Regions from separate parts of the Homo sapiens genome. Here regions 1, 2, 3 and 4 are each linked to region 5. The links are contacts of gene promoters, found by promoter capture Hi-C in human tissues and cell types (Jung and others, 2019). All regions are on one chromosome and are shown on one strand. Each heading gives the region's core, a stretch centred on a gene start or on the middle of the fragment in contact. The rest is flanking DNA. Distances are from core to core; before and after follow the strand shown. Region 1 overlaps NR6A1 (nuclear receptor subfamily 6 group A member 1). Region 2 overlaps NR6A1 (nuclear receptor subfamily 6 group A member 1). Region 3 has its middle 47 kb from the start of NEK6. Region 4 holds the start of MIR181A2HG (MIR181A2 host gene). Region 5 holds the start of PSMB7 (proteasome 20S subunit beta 7).

Evidence for each region. Contacts are between HindIII fragments. The study calls those that stand out against the background at their distance.
Region 1: a fragment that was not itself captured here is called in contact with the fragment with the promoter of PSMB7 in region 5 in 1 of the 25 tissues and cell types used here (mesenchymal stem cells).
Region 2: a fragment that was not itself captured here is called in contact with the fragment with the promoter of PSMB7 in region 5 in 1 of the 25 tissues and cell types used here (spleen).
Region 3: a fragment that was not itself captured here is called in contact with the fragment with the promoter of PSMB7 in region 5 in 1 of the 25 tissues and cell types used here (spleen).
Region 4: a fragment that was not itself captured here is called in contact with the fragment with the promoter of PSMB7 in region 5 in 4 of the 25 tissues and cell types used here (adrenal gland, aorta, dorsolateral prefrontal cortex and 1 more).

What each region holds. Positions count from the first base shown.
Region 1 is chr9:124,580,986-124,584,286 of GRCh38, forward strand. All of the region lies in intron 2 of NR6A1 (nuclear receptor subfamily 6 group A member 1), which reads right to left. Among named protein-coding and RNA genes, the nearest start is that of NR5A1, 75 kb to the left of the region's middle. The HindIII fragment of the contact is 4,440 bases long and covers 1-3,301 here.
Region 2 is chr9:124,554,608-124,558,045 of GRCh38, forward strand. The region is part of intron 2 of NR6A1 (nuclear receptor subfamily 6 group A member 1); the gene reads right to left. Among named protein-coding and RNA genes, the nearest start is that of NR5A1, 49 kb to the left of the region's middle. The HindIII fragment of the contact is 3,599 bases long and covers 1-3,050 here.
Region 3 is chr9:124,208,849-124,212,254 of GRCh38, forward strand. No RefSeq gene overlaps it. Among named protein-coding and RNA genes, the nearest start is that of NEK6, 47 kb to the right of the region's middle. The HindIII fragment of the contact is 6,047 bases long and covers 1-3,406 here.
Region 4 is chr9:124,656,087-124,659,892 of GRCh38, forward strand. All of the region lies in intron 2 of NR6A1 (nuclear receptor subfamily 6 group A member 1), which reads right to left. MIR181A2HG (MIR181A2 host gene) reads left to right here and starts at 2,350. Exons shown (of 2, transcript NR_038975.1): 1 at 2,350-2,655. RefSeq lists enhancers at 2,397-2,516, 3,338-3,387. The HindIII fragment of the contact is 3,606 bases long and covers 378-3,806 here.
Region 5 is chr9:124,413,213-124,416,739 of GRCh38, forward strand. PSMB7 (proteasome 20S subunit beta 7) reads right to left here and starts at 2,230. Exons shown (of 8, transcript NM_002799.4): 1 at 2,152-2,230; 2 at 1,630-1,723; 3 at 696-793. The coding sequence starts at 2,213. RefSeq lists an enhancer at 2,137-2,186. The HindIII fragment of the contact is 5,075 bases long and covers 965-3,527 here.

The DNA.
Region 1 (3,301 bases), core at 712-3,211, 170 kb after region 5:
TGCCTACAGCCATCTGATCTTTGACAAACCTGACAAAAACAAGAAATGGTGCTGGAAGAACTGGCTAGCCATATGCAGAAAATTGAAATTGGATCCCTTCCTTATACCATATACAAAAATCAACTCAAGATGGATTAAAGACTTAAATGTAAAACCCAAAACTATAAAAACCCTAGAAGAAAACCTAGGCAATACCATCAGTACATGGGAAGAGGCAAAGATTTCATGATGAAGATGCCAAAAACAATTGTAACAAAAGCAAAAATTGACAAATGGGATTTAATTAAACTAAAGAGCTTCTGCACAGCAAAAGAAACTATCATCAGAGGCCGGGCACAGTGGCTCACGCTTGTAATCCCAGCACTTTGGTAGGCCGAGGCAGGCGGATCACGAGGTCAAGAGATCGAGACCATCTGGCCAACATGGTGAAACCCCGTCTCTACTAAAAATAGAAAAATTAGCTGGGCATGGTGGTGCATGCCTGTAGTCCCAGCTACTCGGGAGGCTGACACAGGAGAATCACTTGAACCCAGGAGGGGGAGGTTGCAGTGAGCCGAGATCACGCCATTGCACTCCAGCCTGGAGACAGAGCAAGACTCCGTCTCAAAAAACAAACGAACAAACAAAAAGAAACTATCATCAGAGTAAACAGACAACCTACAGAATGGGAGAAAATTTTTGCAATCTATCCATCTGACAAAGGTCTGATATCCAGAATCTACAAGGAATTTAATCAAATTTACAAGAAAAAAACCAACCACATTGAAAAAGTGGGCCGAGGATATGAACAGACGCTTCTCAAAAGAAGACATTTATGAGCCGACAAACATGAAAAAAAGCTCAACATCAATGATCATTAGAGCAATGCAAATCAAAACCACAGTGAGATACCATCTCACATCAGTCAGAATGGCAATTATTAAAGAGTGAAGAAACAACAGATGCTGGCGAGGCCGTGGAGAAATAGGAATGCTTTTATACTTTTGGTGAGAGTGAATATTAGTTCAACCATTGTAGAAGATGTTGTGGTGATTTCTCAAAGACCAAGAACCAGAAATACCATTCGACCCAGCAATCCCATTACTGGGTATATAACCAAAGGAATATAAATCATTCTATTATAAAGACATATGTACATGTACATTCATTGCAGTACTATTCACAATAGCAAAGATACAGAAACAAACTAAATGTCCATCAGTGATAGACTGGATAAAGAAAATGTGATACATATACACCATGGAATACTAGTCAGCCATAAAAAAGAACAAGATCTGCAAGGACACAGATGAAGCTGGGGGCCATTATCCTTAGCAAACTAACATGCGAACAGAAAACCAAATACCGCATGTTCCCACTTATAAGGAGGAGCTAAATGATGAGAACACACGGACACATAGAGGGGAACAACACACACTGGGGCTTACCAGAGGGCAGAGGGTGGGAGGAGGGAGAGGATCAGGAAAAATAACTAATGGATGCTAGGCTTAATACCTGGGTGATGAAATGATCTGTACAACAAACCTCCATGACACACATTTACCTATGTAACAAACCAGCACATCCTGCACATGTACCCCTGAACTTAAAAGTTAAAAAAAAAAAAAGAAATGGTTCTGGGCCAGGTGGAGTGGCCCATGCCTGTAATCCTAGCACTTTGGGAGGCCAAGGTGGAAGGACTGCTTGAGGCCAGGAATTTGAGACCAGCCAGGCCAATACAGTGAGACCTCATCTCTATTAAAAAGAAAACAAATTAGCTGGGCATGGTGGTGTGTGCCTGTAGTCCCAGCTACTCAGGAGGCTGAGGCAAAAGGATTGTTTGAGCATAAGAGTTCAAGGTTGCAGTGAGCTGAGATTGCATACTGCAAAAGAACAAGACCCCATCTCTCTAAAGAAAAAAAGAAAGAAAATGGTTTTGTATCATCACTGTGGAGGTGGTTACAGAGATTACACAAATCTATATTCACAGAAGAGTACGCCCTTCCCCCCCAAAGCACTCAATTTTTCTGTATGCTAATTGTACAATGAAGTTAAAAACAAAAGCACCCCAAATTATCTATCCAAAAACATTATAATGCTTTGGCCATTAGGTAATCAACATTTCACAAGATGTAAGTAAAAATACAATGATTGCTCAGCAAATCACGCACCCACCCACCCACACCCACACCCACCCCTTGCTCTAGAAAACCAAAAGAAACCTTTCAATTAGTGGGAAAAGTTTGGATAAGATATTCAGACTCTATTTTTCCATTCATTAAGAAAATACAACAGACTCCCTTTCTGTTGGGAACACTCCCCTAGAGGACAGATGACTCCTTCACAGAGTATAACTTCTTACAACCACTTAACCGAGGCCTCTCCCTCTGTAGTACCTGGCAATTTGTAACAAGGTTAAGTAAGGCTATAGCATGCTCTCCCTAAATCCCAGGACAGTTTCTTGAAGTGTTAAACCTCCAGCATCTAGGCCTCTAGTTCTGAGGCAGAACTGTGCTTGTGCTCCTTTCTAGCAAGGTACATTAATCTCTTCAACATATTCAGAAGAAGACTGACAGGAATGTGAGGGGGGCTCTCTTCTGTTTAGGGGCAGGGGCATCCACTCACAGATCAAAGTTCTCTCTAGGGTTTCCCTTGTATCTAGAACCAAACAATACTTCTGTCCTATATGAGTCTTAGAACTCACGGCATACTCGGTCAGGTTGTTTCACATTGTCAGGCATGTGCTCATGCTGCTCCTCTGCTTAGGAGACCCTTTGCCACTTCACCAGCCTGGCAAACATCTATCAGTCTCTCAGGATGACTTCCTGAGTGAGGCCTAACCTGATAGCCCTCTGCACAACTTCTGTACTCACAAATGAGCACTCTGCCCTCTGCACAGCTTCTGTACTCTACAGTATTGCTATCAGTATGCCCCGAACACTTCATTACACTTATTTATGTGAGGATCTATTTCCCTCTGCTAGACTTGGGTATATCACAGGGCAGGGAGAGAGTCTTATTTTTTCTGTATCCCTAATGCATAGCTCAATACCAAGCACAGAGCAATCACTAGTGAACATCAGTTGAATGAAAGAACAGTGCATGAGCATACATCATTTTATTGCACTTGGCTTTTTTTTTTTTTTTTTGAGACAGAGTCTCACTCTGTCACCCAGGCTGGAGTGCAGTGGGTGGCGCAATCTCAGCATCTCAGCTCACTGCAACCTCCACCTCCCACGTTCAAGCGATTCTCCTGCCTCAGCCTCCCGAGTAGCTGGGATTACAGGCGTATGCCACCACACCCAGCTAATTTTTGAATTTT
Region 2 (3,438 bases), core at 1-2,500, 140 kb after region 5:
GCTTTAAGCCTACAGTTCCTAAAGTGAGCAACTCTGCTCTGGGTAGATTAAGACCACCACTATCTCCAGGCTAAAGGGCAAACAGGGGGCCCATCTTCGGATCCTTGTCCCAAGAGTAGTCCCTGTATCTGTGGTTGCAGATACCACAACACAGTCTACCTAAACTCTTCCTCCTGGGTTTCATCAACACTTGGATCAGTATCTAAGACTGAAACCTAGAAAGAATCTTTGACTCCTCTATCACCCTTACCCTGCTCATCTATAACCCATCAATTCTACCCTGTAGGAGCACGGTAAGGATTACTTACCATATATGTAAGGGCCTAACACATGATATACAGCCAATAAATGACAGCTGTAATTGAGTTCTAACCATACCGAGCTAAGCCGGTCAGCCAGACATCCAGCCAATAAATATTTACTGTGCAACTCTTCTATCCTGGGAACTGCTGTAAGGCACAAATACAGCAGTGAACAGAAGCCCCTGGTGAAGCTTACACTCTAGCAGAGTATCTATTCTGTGTCCAGGCCCTGTGCTAGGACATAAATAAATCATCATGATCCCCAGAGTCATGGAACTCACTGACGAGCAATAAACAAGTTACTCAAGGAGGAAATTCAGGATAGAATATAGCTCTTCACTTCCTCTTCCTTTAAACTGCATTTACTCAGGACCAAGCAACTGCTAAAGAGCAGGCACACGACAAAAAAGCACCCTGTGAACTGTGATGTGAAGCTATGCCAGCAGGTACAAGAAATCACCAGGGAAGGTTCCGATCAGAGGCCAAGACAAGAAATCAGATATTTCAACCTCACTCCTGAGTAAGAGGGAAGGTATAATAATCAAGAACATCGTTATAGAGCCAGGCGTGATGGCACACACCTGTAGTCTCATCTACTGAGGAGGCTGAAGCAGGAGGACTGCTTGAGCCTAGGAGTTTGAGGCTGCAGTGAGCTATGATTGCACCACTGCATTCCAGCCTGAGCGACGGCAAGACCATATCTCTTAAAAAACAAATAAACAAAAACAAAGGCACATCATTATACCATGAATTAGAGACCGCTTATAATTAGAGAGATTCTAATTTGAACCCTAGCTCTGAAACTAGCTGGGTGAACTAGGGAAAAATTGACCTTCTTTACTTTTCTAATTTCTCTCATCTGTTAAATGGTGATTATAATAATACCTATATCCCATGGATAAAGTTCTCATTGCAGTGTGTGGGCTATAATAGACATTTGATAACTGTCAGCTATTATTTTCATTATTATTACCCCAGCAGGTACACATTTAATGTGATAATGACATTCCTGAAAGGAAAAGCTTTCGAAGGCAATGTTAGCAGAGGGTCATGGTAGTATATACAGGAGGGATGCAGAGAAAGGAGGTGGCTTGCATTTCTGGAGCCCTTAATATATGCCAACTTTGAGATGAGTCTTTATGATTGCCATCTATAGTAAGCAGAATAACTGCGACCCATAGATATCAGGTCCTAATCCTTGGAACCTGTAAAATGCTACCTTATAAAGGAAAAAGGGTATTTGTAGATGTGATTGAATTAAGAATCTTGCGGTAGGGGGTTATTCTGAATTATATGGGTGGGCCCGAAATACAATCACAAGTGTCTTCGTAAGACAGAGGCAGAGGAAGATCTGATAAAGATAGTAGAGAAGAAGAAACACATCACATGCAAAAGAGAAGGTGATACGAAGACAGAGGCAGAAACTGGCCACCAACCAAGGAATGACGGCAGTCACCAGAAGTTGGAAGAGGCAAGGAACCGATTCTCCCCTAGAGCTTCTGAAAGGAGTGTGGCTCTGCAAACACTTTCATTTCAGCCCAGGGATACTGATTTTTTTTTTTTTTTTTTGAAAGGGAGTCTTGCTCTGTCACCCAGGCTGGAGTGCAGTGGTTCAATCTCGGTTCACTGCAACCTCCGCCTCCTAGGTTCAAGCAATTATCCTGCCTCAGCCTCCCAAGTAGCTGGGATTACAGGTGCCTGCCACCATGCCCTGCTAATTTTTGTATTTTTAGTAGAGACGGGGTTTTACCATCTTGGCCAGGCTGGTCTTGAATTCCTGACCTCAAGTGATCTGCACACCTTGGCCTCCCAAAGTGCTGGGATTAGAGGTGTGAGCCACCACGCCCGACCTGATTTTGGATTTATGGCTTCTCTTCCAGTAAGAGAGTAAATTTTTGTTGTTTTCAGGCACTGAGTTTGTGGTAATTTGTTACAGCAGCACAGGAAACTAATATACCTTTTTTTTTTTTTCGCAAACAGGGAAACAGGCAATATTAAGACTTGTCTCAAGTCAGCTGGCAAACAGCAGGTACTCACAGACAAGTACATACATGAGATTATACAACCAGGGAAATGGAGAACGACAGATATGGAAAGACTGCCTAGGTTCTTGAGGACTCTACAGTTCTTGGTTACAGACTTTTCTAAGGCTTGGATACACTTCCTTTGAGAAAACAGCACAGTGACAAATTGACATAACCACGTTATTGTAATACAATCCTCCTTTTTTCTTTTTTTGAGACGGATCTCACTCTGTAGCCCAGGCTGGAGTGCAGTAGCGCGATCTTGGCTCACTGCAACCTCTGCCTCCCAGGTCCCGGTTCAAGTAATGATCCTGCCTCAGCCTCCCGAGTAGCTGGGATTACAGGAACGTGCCACCATGCCTGGCTAATTTTTGTATTTTCAGTAGAGATGGGGTTTCACCATGTTGGCCAGGCTGGTCTTGAACTCCTGACCTCGTGATCCACCCACCTCGGCCTCCCAAAGTTCTGGGATGACAGGAGTGGGCCACCGCGCCCGGCCAATCCTCCTTCTTTTCTTTCTTAAGCTAACTTAAGTGAGTTTCTGTTGTTTGCAACACAAACAAAATACAAAAAGCCCTATTAAGAAAAAAAAGATACCCTATAAAAATGGCCCTGGTGTGATCAGTATTCCTTTTATTTTCCTTTTGAAAACATAAAGAAAGCTCAAGGTAAACACTACAGAAAAGTTACAATAGCAAATTTTAAAAATTAAAACAGGTAAGGCCAAACAGGCAAAATGAATAGCATAAAAATAGCACCCACTATGTTTGAGATGGGATTTCCTAGAGTGCTGAAAAGGCCTGGAAATGGAACATGGAACACTGTTGGGAAACCATGATTGGCTATGGAAGAATCTAAATTTTCTAATTTTAAAACCTTCAGTGTTCTTTTAGATATGACTATAATGTAAACCAGAGCCTTATTAGAATAGACTTAAAAACAGTTATAATGAATATATCCACAAGGACACACCTTCCTTTCTTCACTGATACGATTTCACTGAACACCCACCACAACTAGGTAGGCTTTACTTCACTGACTCATGTAATCCTCAAAACCCCATACATAGGTGAGTACAATTGTTATCACCCTTTTGTAAATGATTAAGTGGA
Region 3 (3,406 bases), core at 666-3,165, 200 kb before region 5:
CACCCCCTTGCCACCCCATCTCTCTCAATAGGTAACCATGCCCCAAACACCACTGATGGAACAGATGCTCAAGAGGCGTGACTGCCTTCTTGGTCTTGCCCCATCCCTGTGAACCTATCTCATCTGCCTTGGTCTTTGTGTCCTCCTTCCTGGCATCCAGAGGCCATGTCCCTTCTCTTCCCAGAGGCCAATGCCATGACTTGTGCTCTGAATCCCATTCCTTCTCGCCTTTTGTTTTTTGGTTGTTTGTTTGTTTGTTTGTTTGAGACACAGTCACTCTGTAGCCCATGCCTGTGTCATGCAGTGGTGCGATCTCGGCTTGCTGCAACCTCTGCCTCCTGGGTTCAAGCGATTCTCCTACCTCAGCCTCCCAAGTAACTGGGACTATGAGCGCATGCCACCACGTCCGGACAATTTTTGTATTTTTGGTAGAGACTGTCTCTACCAGTCTTGAACTCCTGACCACCTGATCCGCCCACCTCAGCTTCCTGAAGTGCTGGGATTACAGGAGTGAGCCGCTGCATCCACCCCGCTTCTTGCCTTTTTAAGGGCTTGAATCCTATTGTGTGTTCCTGATCAGTACCTCCCTCTCCTGTTAGCCCACAGACCTGCTCCGGGGTGTTGCATCTTGAAAACTCCTCCCACCTTGGGCCCTTCCCCTCCCTTCCTCCTCCCATTATCTTTGTAGAGCTGCCTCTGACTCCTCACCTCCCATCTTCCTTTCGTTAGCCCAACCCTATTGCCTCTATTCCTCTGAACGGAGTCCTAGGGCTCCCGGGAGGCCCTGTAGGAGTAAAGGCAGGAGGTAAGGGGCTCCAGGCCCTCCACTTCTCTCCAGCCTCAGCAGCAGAACACTCATCTGTTCAAACTAGGCTATTCCGGCCCCAGCCACCGAGACCCCCTGTTCTATCACTCCGAATGGAATCTCAGCCTCTCTTCCTTTTGAGGCTTTGTTTTGGGGATGCACTTCTTGATTCTTAGTTTGGGCCTAATTTCAGCCAGTTCAAACTGGTTTGAGCTGAATTAGGACAAATACAACCAGCCACTGCCAGCTTCAAATGGTTTGAATCAGCTAGATCAGTTGACCAGTTCACTGAGCTCAGATGGATTTCAGTGATCCATTGTGGCTAAAATCAGGCCAACCCAGAGAGTTGAGAACGGGCCCAGTTAGAGAGACCCCATGACAGGATGGAGCTGGAGTCACTTCCAAACCTGTTTGCTGGTTTCATCTAGTTTGCTCTGGTCATAATGAGCTTTTGAAGTGTCTTGGGGGTGGAGGGGGACACCATAAATTTACGCTTGGAAAAAAATTTCAAAGTGTTTGGAAACCACTGGGCGAATAATTACTAAGATGTCCAGCCCTGCTCATGGTTTTAAATGCTAAGGGAAGGCCAGTGTTGATGTCCATTTTATTTTTAGTTTTATTTTCTGAGATGGAGTCCCACTCTGTCGCCCAGGCTGGAGTGCAGTGGCGTGATCCCAGCTCACTGCAACCTCCACCTCCCAGGTTCAAGCAATTCTGCCTCAGCCTCCCGAGTAGTTGGGATTACAGGTGCCCGCCACTACACCCAGCTAATTTTTGTATTTTTAGTAGAGATGGGGTTTCACCATGTTGGCCAGGCTGGTCTCCAACTCCTGACCTCAGGTGATCTACCTGCCTTGGCCTCCCAAAGTGCTGGGATTCCAGATGTGAGCCATTGTGCCTGGCCCATTTTATTTATTTTTTATTAAGTTTTAGAGCTTTCATTTTTCATTTTTTCACTTTAATTTTTATTTTTAAACACTTTACTTTTTTTAGAGCAGTTTTTTTGTTTACAGCAAAAGAAGCAGAAAGCACAGAAAATTCCCATATACCCCACCACCTCCAACCCCATTATTTCACCTATGATGAACATCTTGAATTACTGTAGTACATCTGTTACAATTGGTGAGCAGTATTAACACATTATTATTGACTAAAGTCCATAGTTCACACTGGGATTCACTATAGAATGCACAACACAAATGTATAATGCATGATGACTCATGTATACACATTTAATGTACAATGACTAACATATAATGACAAGCACCCACCGTAACAGCATCATGCAAAATAGATTCACTGCCCCAAAATCCCCTGTATTCCACCTCGTCATCTCCCCTCCCTTCCTCCACCCCCAGCTTCTGGCAATCACCGGTCTTTTTTTTTTTCTTACTGTTTTAATAGTTTTGCCTTTTCCAGAGTGCCATATAGTTGGAATCATACAGTATGTTGCCTAATCAGACTGGCTTCTTTCACCCAGTAATATGCATTTAAAGCTCCTCCATGCTCTTTCATGACTTAATAGTTCACTTCTTTTTTTTATTGTGGTAAAATATACAAAACACAAAATTTTTCACTGAGACAGAGTCTAACTCTGTGGCCCAGGCTGGAGTGCAATGGCGTGATCTCGACTCACTGCAAAATCTGCCTACCAGGTTCAAATGATTCTCCTGCCAAGTAGCTGGGATTACAGGTGCCCACCTCCATGCCCAGCTAATTTTTGTATTTTTAATAGAGACGGGGTTTCACCATGTTAGCCAGGCTGCTCTCAAACTCCTGACCTCAAGTGATCCACTTGCCTCGGCCTCCCAAAGTGCTGGGATTACAGGCGTGAGCCACCACACCCGGCTTCATTTTAACCATTTTGAAGTGGCATGAAGTACATTCAAATTGTCGTGCCACCATCCATCACCCAAACCGAAATCCATAACCATTAAACCATAACTCCTCATTCCTACAGTCTGTTTCTTTTCATTACGGGATAATATTCCATTGTCTGGATGGGCCACAGTTTGTTTATCCACTCACCTATTGAAGGACATCTTGGTTCTTCCCACATCTTGCCAATTATAAATGAAGCTGCTATAAATATTTGTGTGCAGGTTTTTGTGTGCACATAAGTTTTCAAGTCATTTGGGTAAACACAAGGAGTGTGATTGCCGGGCCTCTGTCTGACTTTATTTCATCAACCGCATCAAGCACCTGGAGTGCGGCAGGAGCCAGGCCCAACACTCTATGTCTGTTACCTTATTTAATAACAGCCCACAATACAGCCAGGCACAGTGGCTCATGCCTGTAATCTTGGCACTTTGGGAGGCCAAGGCGGGTGGATCACATGAGGTCAGGAGTTCGAGACCGGCCTGGCCAACATAATGAAACCCTGTCTCTACTGAAAATACAAAAAAATTACCCAGGCATGGTGGTGCACACTTGTAGTCCCAGCTACACCGGAGGCTGAGGCAGGAGAATCGCTTGAACCCAGGTGACGGAGGCTGCAGTGAGCCAAGATCATGCCACTGCACTCCAGCCTGGGTGACAGAGCAAGACTCTGACTCAAACAAACAAACAAACAAACCCACAATAACCCTGAAAACAGACGCT
Region 4 (3,806 bases), core at 931-3,430, 240 kb after region 5:
TGCTGGCTCTATAACTCCCTGCAAAAGCTGATGGTTTTAAAGTAGTCTGGCACCTCCTTCTTCTCTCTCTTGCCTCCTCCTCTCCTACCATGTGATCTCTGCACACACCAGCTCCCTTTCACCTTGTGCCATGAATGGAGGCAGCTTGAGGCCCTCACCAGAAGCTGGTGCCATGCTTCTTGTACAGCTTGCAGAACCATGAGCCAAATAAACCTCTTTTCTTTATAAATTACCCAGCCTCAGGTATTCCTTTACAGCAACACTAAAGGGACTAAGACAGTAGTATACACATGCAATGGTATATTATTCAGCCTTAAAACGTAAGGAAATTCTGACATGCGACAACATGCATGAACCTTGAGGACACCATGCTAAGTGAAATAAGCCTGTCAAAAGGGAACACATCTTGTATTATTCCACTTATATGAGGTATCTAGAGTAGTCAAAAAGCAAACAGACAGAGGCTAGGCACGGTGGGCTCATGCCTGTAATTCTAGGATTTTGGGAGGCCAAGGTGGGTGGATCACTTGAGATCACGAGTTCGAGACCAGCCTGGCCAACATGGTGAAACCCCGTGTCTACTAAAAATACAAAAACTAGCCAGGCGTGGTGGTGGGCACCTGTAGTCCCAGCTACTCAGGAGGCTGAGGAAGGAGAATTGCTTGAACCCAGGAGGCGGAAGTTGCAGTGAGCCAAGACAGTGCCATTGCATCCCAGCTTGGGCAACAAGAGTAAAATTCCGTCTCCAAAAACAAAAAACAAAAAATCAAAGAGAAAGTAGAATGATGGTTGTCCCCAGGGCCTGGGGGAGGGAAGAATGGCAAGTTAGTGTTTAACAGGTAGGTAGAGAATTTCAGTTTTGCAAGAGGAGAAGAGTTCTGTGGTGGATGGATGGTGGTGAAGGCTGCAAAACAACGTGAATGCACTTAACACCACAGAACTATACACTTAAAAATTATTACAACAGTCAATTTTATGTTACATATACCTTACCACAACTTAGAAAAAAAAAAGATTGTCTTGTGGCTTACAAAAAGCAAGAGAGTGCTCATCTCCTCTTCTTTCGAACATTCTTATATCTAATAGTGCATCAAAACAGCTTTTCTCGGGTTAAGACAAGAGAATAATTCTGGGGTAGTCCTCATATGGAAGGTGCTGCATAATATAGTCAACATCTAAAAAATTCCAAGTACAAACATCCAAACCCAAAATTTACAGCAAAAGAGACAGATGGAATTATTTCAACAACTGTGAGAAAGGCAAGAAATAAACAGAACTATTGGTATGTTTAAGTATCAATTTAGGACTCTATAAGCTAATTTCTAAAGAGACAAGAAAGTCCACGGAAAAAAATGATTGGTCCATGTAGAGTAGATTTCATATATCAGAGTCAAGGTCTCACAAAACAACTTTACTGTTTTGAAACTTTAAAGAAGTGTCAACTTGCATTAAATAAACAAAGCAACTGCCATGTACTAAACAAAAATGTCACAAATGACAGTCCTGTATAATGACCTGGTTTCCCAGTGGCTCAGAAAGATGGAAAATAAACCCCAAGGACCCTAGTTCAGACAGACTGAAGAGAGCAGACCGTGGCTGTCTTGCATGATTAAAGGCTATGTCACAGCTCAGTAGGGTCCATGCTTTCATAGCTTCCCCCCCCCAGCAACCCCTAATGTGACTAGGACTGGGACAAGAGTGACAGTCTCACAAAGGGGATAAAAAGACATAAAGCTTCTTCCTCATACATCCAAACACTCCAGAATCTAAAACTTCACTTCTCTGTTGTCCATCTATCCAATTTTCATTAAGAGCAATTTATATCATATAGAGGCTTCAAAGTCAAATATGCCACTTTTATTTTTACCTTATCAAACCTATAAAATCAAGACCAAGGGTTGGTCTGGATATGAAGCTTGGTTAGGATCACAATAAATTTTCAAATCAAATAATTGGTTTCAGTTAGAGCCAAGTTTATCAACAATAGGGTGATTTAGGATTCAGGAAAAATCGGCTGCCTATTTGTATTTCAGAAAGACTAGTATTTCTTCTGACACAAGTAGAGAGGTGTAAGCAACCTCTGGGTGGGTAATGCCACCAAACAAAAGCAACACCTTCAAAGTCTCTCAGTGACTAGAGGCAGCCAGACACTCAAACTGCCAGTCCTGAATTACGGCCTCTGAATGGTGAGGGCTTCACATTTCACCGATCAGGGCACAGCCCAATCAGAAGACAAACCCCTGCACTGCCAGGGACCAGCAAATCCGCTTTCTTCCAGTGTGCACATGACTAAATGTGCTTCTGTCCATCATCTGGGTCATATATAGTTCAATGCGAGCTGAGCAGACAGGGCTGCAAGGAAATCTGGCGCGGTTCAATACCTCGTCTAGCCTGGGTTCCAGTATCTAATTTTTTTTTTGTTTTAACTGACAAACTCATTTCTCTACTGGGACAGGATGCTGTGCTGGCTGGAAGTTCCATTTCTACAGCAAGAATCCTATCTGGAAACACAGAAGTTGTCCTCTAGCCACAGCAGCTCGAACTTTTTTGATTGTCGTTGCTGCTTTCTCCCATCACCCCCATCCCCTTTTGACAAAGATCCAACTGTAAAAAGTCTTACGTAACAGTTCAGGACTACTTCGGTTCTTTTACTGGGTAAGCACTTTCAATTTTTTTTTTTTAACTAAAAGCCATTTTAAAATTGAATCTGTTGAGGGGCTTGACTAAAATCTTTTAAGTAATTTGTGTAATGGAATACTGTCAGTGGATTTTTTCGTCTCATTTCTGCACGTGCTCCTTTGTTCTCAGAACAGAAGCTTTTTATACACATCCCATAACGCAGCTGGAGAGAGTTATGAAGTCAGTTATTATAAGGAACACAAAGGTTGCTTTCCATTCTTTGCCTTTAGATAATTAATTTTTTTGTTTTCTTAAAATGGAGTATTTAAAGAAGGAAGAAATTCACAAGAAATAAACTGTTGGAGAATTTAGAAAAGTTTGAAGTTTTTACCACCTTTTCTATCTCTAGTTTTGTGTGGCCAAACACTTGTGCCGCCTGGGGCGGTGGGGGTAGAGGCAAGCATAGACAGAGAGGAACTAAGCCAGACATGGACAAAGGCACGAGCCAAAACCAGACAGTCCTGGCCGTTCGATAGGCCAGCAGTGGGTGAGACAGGTCAGCCAGCTGCAGGGGCGGGAGCGGGGGGGCGGGTAGGGACATGGATGTGTGAGGTGCTCATGCGTGCGATCGTGACTAGATTCTGAAACTGCCAGCCATTTTCCCAGCTCCGCTTTGTGCAATCTAAAGGAATGCATCCCCTCTGAAGCAGTCTTGCCAGAGCCTAGTGAGGGAGAGAAGTATGGTAAATACCACAACATATGGAATCAGAAAATACCGGGAACTGGAGTGGGCAAGGGGGAATGCAGAGGGTGTGGAAATTTTTTAGTGATCTGGAATGTGTTGAGTGACAGGAAGTGCCCCAAGCTTCTCCCCCACCAACTCTTCTCAGTCGCGCCTGCTTTTGTCTAACTCTTGTAATCTACACACTACTGCTTACAAAGCTGTCTGAGTTTAAGACAAAAAGAAACCTAAAAGTCTCCTTACTTCATAGTACCTGTGATATGGAAGGAATGTAAAAGCATGACCCTTTAAGCCTATGGACATTTTTTCAGGTATACAGGAGAAAGATAAAATAATTTTCCACAGAAAAATGAGAATTATGAATTATATAGTTCAGGTTCCAAATCTAATTTTTAAAAGAATTCTGATTCTGCTACACTTTACAAATGCTTAGGTTGGTTCCTAA
Region 5 (3,527 bases), core at 980-3,479:
TATGAGCTGGAATAAAAACACTCTACAAGCAGAGAAGGCAGAGTTTCTAAATAGAATCTCACATAAGCAACGGTAGAATAGCTTGGAGATGAGGGAAATAGGGACAGTTCAGACGTAACTGGAGCACAGGGTGATGGCAACTGAAAAAGACGCTTGAAGGGTAGGCTTTCTATGAGACTGTGCAAGGCCACAGAATTTTGATTTTTATCCTAAAAGCCATGTGGAAATGTGACAAGTCTCTTGAAAAGCTTTTTAAGAAAGGGATGCCATCAGATCTATGTTTTACAAAATCCAGTATGGCAGAAGAGTGAACAATAGGATGCCTAAGAGAGGCCAATTAAATGGTAACTGCAATAGTCCAGCTAAGAAAAAAGAACCTCTATGGTTCAAGTTAATGTTTGAAAAAAAGAAAAAGAAAAAAGAACCCAAACTAGAGCCTTAGCAAAGGAAAGGATAGGAGGGAATGGATTCAAGAGGCACAGAGAGGGCAAAACTGGCCACCAATTCAATTGGAGACTGAAGCAAAGAGAGGACTTGAAGTTACTGGCTTAGGTAACAGGTGGCTGGAAATGCCATTTAAGGGAGACAGAAAATACAGGTTGAAAAACAGGTTTTAGTAAGGAGCACAGGAAGGTCAATTTTTAGCCCTGACATGTTTGAAAATATAAGAGTTATTCAAACGAATCAATACTTACTAAATATTAGGAGATATGAAGTGTATTTTTGAACAGTTCTTGTCAGCAACAACCATCCCTTCAGTTGCTCTTGTATCTGCTCCAAGAACTATGCCATCCTATTAAAAAAAAAAGTTTTTAAACAATTTTACAAATATAAGCCAACCGCAACTCTCTATTCTACTTTAGGGAATACTATGTTGGCCATACCACATGCTCCCCTAATCTCAAAACGCCAGCCAAAACTCATAGCAAAAATATTGTGCTACACTTTCAGGATTTAAGAAAAGGTTTCTTAGTAAATGCTACTAATTGAATCCTGAGTAGGTAAGAATTATTCCCATTTTCAAGTGAGGCTCAGGTGTCGGGTAAATTCCTTGTAAATCAGAGCTAATCTGGAAAAAACCTGGATTAAGACTCAGGAATCTTTCCATTAAATTAGCCATCACTATCAATTTCCTTTTAAAACATGTTGCTTTTCTTTAAAACATGTTGCACAGGTAATCATTATCCCTTTTGACGTTTCCAACAATTTAAGGCAGGAGTTATCTCCATTTGATGCATCTGAAGGTGTCCCTGTGAGAAGGAAAGTGAGCTGCCAGAAGTTGGAATCAGCACTATAGAGTTCAAAGGTGAGACAGACCTGTCTGACCCCAAATCTCGTGATCTCCCATCACATACTTCAGCTTCCTAAACTAGTAATTAAGAAGCTAACTGACCTGTTTAAAAAAAAAAAAAAGAAAGAAAGAAAAAACCTCAGCAAAGTGAGGAAAGAACATAAACTGTTAAGAAGCACACAAAACCTGACAAAAGCAGTCGCTCCTGAAAGACGGTCTCCTGATGTATTCTATAGCATTTGCCTTTCCAGACCGAGCCGGGAGAGACACCGGAAGCCAAGTGTTCTGATTCCTGTTGCCGGTTCAGTCACTGCTGCTCTTAGCCTAACCCGGCTTACCTTATAGACCACCCCAGCGATGGTCGTGCCAGTTTTCCGGACCTTTGGAAGCTTGTATCCCCTCTTTGCAAAATCGGCTTCCAAGACGGCATTCCTAAGAGCAAATGAGAGAATCAAGTGTTGAAGGGCAGGACCACATCGCACAGCACTGGCATGAAAAGTGCCTAACAGAGAACTCAGGAAAGCTGCTACTTGTTTTCACGCCCATCTGTTTAATGAATCCTCCCACCATCAGCACTGTTCTCCCGTTTTCCAACGAAGACAGTCTTACAAAGGGGCCGTGACGTGCCTTAGGAGACGGAGATAAACGGTGGCCGAGTGCGCTGGGAAGGTGGGAGAGCAGACCCGGCTTCAGGAGAAACCCACGCCCAGGCCCTGATTCCCCTGAGTCACACTAGCCGCGGGCCACAGGCCCCGCCATGAATTCTTCCCTCAGAATTCTCGTATCACACCTTGGCCCAGCTCCCACCCGAGCACCGCACTCTTCTCCCTCCCTGAACCAAGCCCCAAGCAAGGCGGCACCTGCGGCAGTTATCAAAAGAGAAGCCTCCAACTGGTGGAGCATACACCGACACAGCCGCCATCTTCCCAAGAAAGCAGTTCCGGGTCGGAGGCGGGTGCAAACAAAAAGAGCCGAGCACTTCCGGCGTCGCTGGCAACGGGGGCTGAAGGGGCGGGGCAAACGCCGCACTAGAACGATTGATCTTAGAGATTCTGGTTCCTAGAGAGGCCAGAGATGTTTGAAGTATATCGCCCCAAGTGGCACGGAGGAGAAAGTGACACCCGGAACCGGGAAAGGACTTGTCCAAGGTGAACGCACCAGCGACCAGGTCTCCTGCCGCTCAGACTGGACTTGTTTCTACCGTTAATTTGGTTCTGCGGTGCTTCAGAGACAGACAGACCCAAGTCCCAGGCACAGCCCCACCACCCCCTTGCGTTAAGCAAGTCTCTTCAACTCTCTGAATCTGTTTCCTCCGCTATCAGATGGAGATTACAACCTAGCTCAAAAGGCTGCTGTAGAATGGCCATTAAGTCTGTGAAAAGAGGCTCAACATGATTAGTCATAGGGTGAATGCAAAGCACGACCACAGTGAGATCCCACTTCGCACCCGCTAGGATGGCCATAAACAAAAAGACAGAAAAGCGCAAGGGTTGCGAGAGTGTGGAGAAATTGGAACCCGAATACACGGCTGGTGAGAATGCAAAACGGTGCGGCTGCTCCGGAAAACAATTTGGCAGTTCCCCAAAAAGTATTATCCTCTTAGATACGCACCCGAGAGGGTTGAAGACATGTATTCACAAAAACTTCTACAAAGGTGAGGTAGAAGGCAGGCCTCCATTCAGAGATGGGGCTGAGATACCTGACCAAATTGAGGACTAGCTAAAACAGGGCCTGGACGGAAGCTGTCTTCCCTAAGACTCGCTCACCAGCCAGCCAAGTCAGTTTACCGTTGCCATGGCAACACTCGTGAGTTACCGCCCCTTTCCATGGCAGTGGCACCATAAACCAAAAGTTACTACCCCTTCCCTAGAAATGCCTGCATAAACCACCCCTTAATCTGCATGTAATTAAAAGTGTGTATAAATATGACAGCAAAACTGCCCTGACACTCTGCCTAAGAGGGTAACCCTGCTCTGCAGGAGCAGTCATGGAGCTGTAACGCCGCCACTTCAATAAAGCCGTTTTCTTCTGCCTCTAACTTGCCCTTGAATTCTTTCTTGGGCAAAGCCAAGAACCCTTGTGGGCTCAGCCGCACTTTGGGGCTTACCTGCCCTGCGTCAAAAGGGGTCTCATTGGCTGGGCGCGGTGTCTCACGCCTGTAATCCCAGCACTTTGGGAGGCCGAGGTGGGCGGATCATGAGGTCAGGAGATTGAGACCATCCTGGCTAACACGGTG